Linked DNA regions of Homo sapiens: region 1 is linked to region 2. Evidence: promoter capture Hi-C in human tissues and cell types (Jung and others, 2019). All regions are on one chromosome and are shown on one strand. The core of a region is centred on a gene start or on the middle of the fragment in contact, and the rest is flanking DNA. Distances in the headings are between cores, read along the strand shown.

Region 1 (3,127 bases), core at 199-2,698, 160 kb before region 2:
AGAGGAAGGGCGCCCTGAAAACTAGAACTACAGGCCAGACCCATTCTTGCCCAGGAGCTGAAGTTAAAAATGCAAGGGGTTTAGGAATCTATCGCAGCAAAAAAAGTGAACATCTAGAACTCTTGAAACCAACTTGTATGCTTTCTATGTGCCAGACAAATTTCCCCAATAACAACATCAGTCAGGAATTACACAAAATAGAGATTCAAAGAGAACAGTGGCTTGCTTGAGATTACAGAACTAGTAAATAATGGGTACACAGTTTGTGTAACTCCCAAACTCATGTTCTTTCCATAGAACATGGAAAGGAAGCCTAGATTCGAAGGCCTCAAAAACATGAATACAATGTATGGAAACAGTAAAAAGTGGCCAGGTGCAGTGGCTCATGCCTGCAATCCCAACACTTTGGGAAGCTGAGGCAGAAGGATCACTTGAGCCTAGAAGTTTAAGAGACTAGTCTGGGCAACACAGTGAGACCCATCTCTATTTCTTATATATAAGAAATAGCAAAAATCTAAAATAGGCATCACAAACTAACCAGGACTACAGAACACAGTACGTAGTTATATGCACATGAATTTATTGCATCACAAAACTACCCCAAACTCACAATTCAAGTCAGATTCATTGATGTTATTTATTTTATATGTAGCAAGAAAACAGAAGAAAACAGCATAGGAGCAAAATGTAAATGAAAAACTGTTAGATATATCTAAAACGAAGAGATGCTGTTAGTTTTGCTTCAACCTCTTTTAGTTATAATTTGCCTGCATATACTGAAATAAAATCTGACAATAGAAAAGAGCGTTTTATGAGCCATCTTTTTAATATGGCCTATTTGTATTATGCATACTAAAGGGGAAAAAAATTCCCTCTAAACATCACAGAACAATCCAACGTGGAAAACCTTACAGAAATATTTGTGGGACTACTTTTCTAGCTGTAGAATTCATATACTACATCTAATTATTAAGTAAACCTTGCATTCAAAAAAGCATGACATTCAAATATAAGGTTGGCAACAGAAAAATAGAAACATAAATAAAATGAAGCATTAAAATAAAACTGAGTAGAAAGGCTGAACTCTTGTATCAAATACCAAGAAACATTCATATCATCGTAATTTGAAAGAAGTAAAAAGCTTTGAAAGGCAGAGAATTGTGCACTTTAACCCCCAAAACTATATTAAAATGTACTTACCCCAAATGCCCAAATTATAAACAATCCAGATTCTTAAATACACCAAATTTATTTGAAATAGATATTCCAAAGCTCCTCTTTTTCTCCTCCTAATCTTCAAAGCTCAATCGGAGACCAGCCTTCCTCCTCCTTTCATTAGCTGGACATGTGTCAGCTCTCTCACATCTGCGATTTCTCACTGACTAGAGCTGCCTGTCCCATTCCAGGGAAACACAGATGGATCCCAGATGGGAAGGTCCTGCCAAACAGACCAGCTCTTCACCTTGCCAGAATCCCCAGATACAGTCAGTCTCTCTCTTTTTCTCCCTCCCTCCTGCTTCCTCTCTCTCCACTACCCTTCCAACCCTCCCTGTTACCAGGGCTCTTTGCCAGCTGATGTCACTAAGTACACACCTCCCAGTGGCTCCTGGCCAATCTGACATTAACTTGTTAAATACGTGTAATTTGTTTATGGCTGACAATAACAGCAAGGATATTGTGCAAAACCTATCTGTGCAAATCCCTAGTGGAATAACACGTAGAGACACACAGAGACACACAGACTCACATTTTTGGGAACATTCAAATGTTTAGCAATTACCATTTAAAGTCCTATATACTGTCTGGTTTCTGCTATTGTTTAATAGCTTCTGTTTTTTGAGCCAGTTTTTAAATCCTAATATAACAAATTCCTTCTTAAAATCAATTATTAAAAATATGTTTTGAACATATAATTGGATGAAAAATATAAAGTTGCAAATTAATTTGGGGAATATAAACAGAAATGTATGTAAATGATTCACACAAGCTGCCTCTCAGATCCAGACTTGGTAGCACTGCAAAACTGGCACGTGATTAAAATAAGACAATGCAGGCAACATGGTTCTGATGCTGTAAAGATTATAAATGGAAGATGGGGACACAATGCAAAATTGTTTTAAAACAGAGCAAATATAAATGTCAGAAATAACATAATATTTAACATTAAAATAACTGCTAATATAAGTGTCAACAATGAGTCGCCAAAATAAAAAATATTTTAAGAACAATAACAATGAAAATCCAGAGAGATGACAGAAACCCATAAGGTCAGAGTTTAATCCTTTATACCTCAAAGAGCTAGCATATAATAGCTGCTCAGTCAATTTCTGCTAAATAAAAATCGAAGGTTGACAACTGATACCATACTATAGTTACACAAAATGGTACCACTGGGGCAAATTGAGTGAAGGGTCCAACGGACCTCCCTGTACATTTTTCATTATAACTTCCTGTGAATCTACATTTTAAAATAAAAAGTTAAAAGATTGTGGGTGGTGGTAGCCAGGTGCAGTGACTCACACCTGTAATCCCAACACTTTGGGAGGCCAAGGTGGTCAGGTCGCTTGAGCTCAGGCGTTTGAGATCAGCCTGGGCAATTTTGGGAGGCCAAGGTGGTCAGGTCGCTTGAGCTCAGGCGTTTGAGATCAGCCTGGGCAACACAGTGAGACCCCATCTTTAAAAAAGAAAAGAAAAAGAAAGGCCAGGCACTGTGGCTCACACCAGTAATCCCAGCACTTTTGGAGGCCGAGGCAAGCGGATCACAAGCTCAAGAGATCAAGACCATCCTGGCCAACATGGTGAAACCCTGTCTCTACTAAAAACACAAAAATTAGCTGGGCGTGTTGGTACGCACCTGTAATCCCAGCTACTCGGGAGGCTGAGGCAGGAGAATTGCTTGAACCCGGGAGGTGGAGGTTGCAGTGAGCTGAGATCATGCCACTGCACTCCAGCCTGGTGACAGAGCGAGACTCCGTCTCAAAAAAAAAGCAAAAGCAAAAGCAAAAAAAGATGGCCAGGGGAAGGCGGGGGTCTTGGCTTCTTCCTGGGTCACATTACATGACACATATCCTATACTAAAATCTACATGAATACAGATTCGGCATGAAAGATCCCCTGCATATATATA
Region 2 (2,887 bases), core at 274-2,773:
TTTTTCTTTTTCAAGACATGGTCTCATTCTGGTACCCAGGCTGGAGTGCAGTGTTGAGGTCATGGTTCACTGCCGCCTCAACTTCCCTGGCTCAAGCAATCCTCCCTGCCTCAGCCTTCTGAGTAGCTGGGACCACAGGTACCCACCACCATGCCGGGGTAATTTTTGTGTTTTTTGTAGAGATGGGGTTTTATCATGTTGCTCAGGCTAGTCTAGAACTCCTGGGCTCAAGCAATCTGCCCATCTTGGCCTCCCAAAGTGCTGGGATTACAGATGTGAGCCACCACGCCCGGCCTGCCACGGAGAGTTTTCAGGAGAGGGGTGATATAATTTGATTTAATAAAACAAACACAAATTCCCTTAGGCTATGTGTGGGAAACTGTTCTCAGGAGACAAGGTGACCATTAGCAGGCTACTGTGATTGTTTCTGATGAGACAATGGTGGCCTGGGTAGTTGTAGCTACCGAGTAGACAGATTTGACATTTTGGAGTTAGAGTTGACAGGGCTTACTGACAGATAGAATGTGGGGATCCAGGGAGGTGAAGAAAATGACCATTCAGTTCCTCCTAGTGCACCTGGAAGGATGGTTGGGCCATTTACTGAGATGGGCCAGAATGACAGGTACAGGTTTTTGGTGAAGGTGCATGTGTGGAAATGAAGAGTTCTGTATAAGTTAGAGATGGTCATCAGACACTCAAGAAGGGGTGTCAAGTAGGCAGCTGAGCTATGGCTCTGGTACTGCAGGGAGGGTCCAGCTGGAGATGTGAATCAGGAAGTCATTAACCTACAGGGCAGCACCCTCCAATAGAAATAGAGCGTGAACCTCTTAGGTGACTTAAAATTTCCCAGTAAGGACCGGACACGGTGGCTCATGCCTACAATCCCAGCACTTTGGGAGGCCAAGGTGGGAGGATGGCTTGCGCCTAGGTAGGAGTTTGAGACCAGCCTGGGCAACATGGGGAGACCGGTCTCTACAAAAAAATTAAAAAAATTTTAGCTGGGCGTGGTGGCGCCTGCCTGTAGTCCCAGCCACTTGGGAGTGTGAGGTGGGAGGATTGCTTTAGCATGGGAGGCGGAAGCTGCAGTGAGCCATGATCACACCATATTATTTTTCCCCCTGCTAGCCACATTGAAAAAGTAAAAAGAAACAACAGGTGAACTTAATTCAAATATTTCTACCACCATAGCTACAAATAAAAAAAACTAATTCAACAAATGTACTTATTTAATCCAATATATCCCAACAATTATTGCAGCACATAATCAATATAAACATTATATATATGAACTATTTGACACTATTTGACATTTCTTCTTCCACATCCAGTGTATCTGACATTTAGCGCACATTTGATTTGCACTCACCCACTTTGAGGAGCTCAATTGCCGCTTAAGTCCGTGGCTAGTGGCTGCCCTAAAGTTCAGCACCGCCACGGAGCTTTGGGTCCACCCGGACTGTAAAAAGGAAGCACTTCCGTTAGCATGACCCGGCCTGAAGTAGCGGCGGAACGGAAGTCGCTTGTGTATGAACGCAGCGGCGGACCTGTGAGGGGATCCGACTTGCCGGCAGAACTTACGCTGCGGGACCCCGGGCACTGTTGCTGCTGCGGGAGGTGAGCAGCGCGGCCGCCGGGGTGGGCTGCGCACCCGCTTTTGACTGGCGCCTGGGGCAGGAGGGGCCGCGGATCCCGGGAAGCGCACGGTGTTCAAGAGGGAGGATGGCACGGTGGTTATGGCGTGGGGCCTGGCGTCAGGCTGTAGGGGTTCGTACCCTAACCCCGCCGCCTAACCCCGTGTGACCTTGGACAGGTCACCTCCACTTCTTTCAAGGCTTCGCTTCGCCACCCGTGAAGTGGGGTTGACAGTACAGCCTGCCTCACAGGGTTGCTATGAGGGTTATAGGTAATAATTCGCGGAAAATGCTTTGCACCATGCCTAACGCATTGTAACCAGCCAATAAAATGTTTGGGATGTTGTACGCTGTTGTTCCAGCCTCATTGCCGACTGTCAGAATTAATTTCGAGCCTCCAGAGAGGCTTCTACATTGCGTTATGCAAAGCATTTTGCTTGTATTATTGCATTTGATCCTACGGTAGGCTTATGGAGATAGGTGCTATTATCCCCATCTAGAGGCTCCCAGAGTTTAAGACAGGTGCCTAAGGTTTAGCTGGCTTGGCAGCAGTGGGGTCAGATTCTGACTCCAGGGTCCATACTTTTTTTTTCTTGAGACGGGAGTCTTGCTCTGTCGCCCAGGCTGGAGTGCAGTGACGCGATCTCGGCTCACTGTAGCCCCTGCCCCGCGAGTTCCAGCGATTCTCCTGCCTCAGCCTCCTGGGTAGCTAGGATTACAGGCGCATACCACCACACCCGGCTAAGTTTTGTATTTTTAGTGGAGTTCATACTCTTAACCAGGATGCTCTAATACTCTCTGTGAAAGGGGGTGTGGGCTGTAAATGTGCAGTTAGTGAACGCTTACTGTATCTCAAGTTGGGTTTTTAATATCTTATTCTTAATAACACTTATGGGGTGGTAGGTGCTGCTTTTATCCTTATTTTACACATGTGGAATTGGCGGCTCAGAGACAGAAATTTGTCTTGCCAAAGGTCACACAGCAATTATGGAGTAGAAAGGGGCGATTTTAAAGTTCACACTTTAAGGCTGTTCTTCTCTGACTCTTGAAACTGGGTTGGCATTGCTCCTAAGTGCTAGTAGCAGATGTGGCAGGTCATCTCATTGGAAAGGTAATGGGCCACATCTGCTCTTTACACGTGTATAGCAGGGTTCCCCTAACCCTAGGTGGTAGAATGGTACCTGTCTGTGGCCTGTGAGGAACCGGGTTGCACAGCAGGAGGTGAGCAGCAAAGCTGGCATTACTGCCTGAGCTCT

What was found. Contacts are between HindIII fragments. The study calls those that stand out against the background at their distance.
Region 1: a contact is called between a fragment that was not itself captured here and the fragment with the promoter of CDK5RAP1 in region 2, in 1 of the 25 tissues and cell types used here (bladder).

The regions. Positions count from the first base shown.
Region 1 is chr20:33,560,748-33,563,874 of GRCh38, reverse strand. All of the region lies in intron 1 of CBFA2T2 (CBFA2/RUNX1 partner transcriptional co-repressor 2), which reads right to left. Among named protein-coding and RNA genes, the nearest start is that of CBFA2T2, 72 kb to the right of the region's middle. RefSeq lists an enhancer at 1,418-1,712. The HindIII fragment of the contact is 6,939 bases long and covers 1-3,127 here.
Region 2 is chr20:33,400,155-33,403,041 of GRCh38, reverse strand. CDK5RAP1 (CDK5RAP1 mitochondrial tRNA methylthiotransferase) reads left to right here and starts at 1,523. Exons shown (of 14, transcript NM_016408.4): 1 at 1,523-1,614. LOC124904889 (a long non-coding RNA gene) reads right to left here and starts at 1,460. Exons shown (of 2, transcript XR_007067567.1): 1 at 1,367-1,460. RefSeq lists enhancers at 1,383-1,582, 1,723-1,812. The HindIII fragment of the contact is 17,720 bases long and covers 1-2,887 here.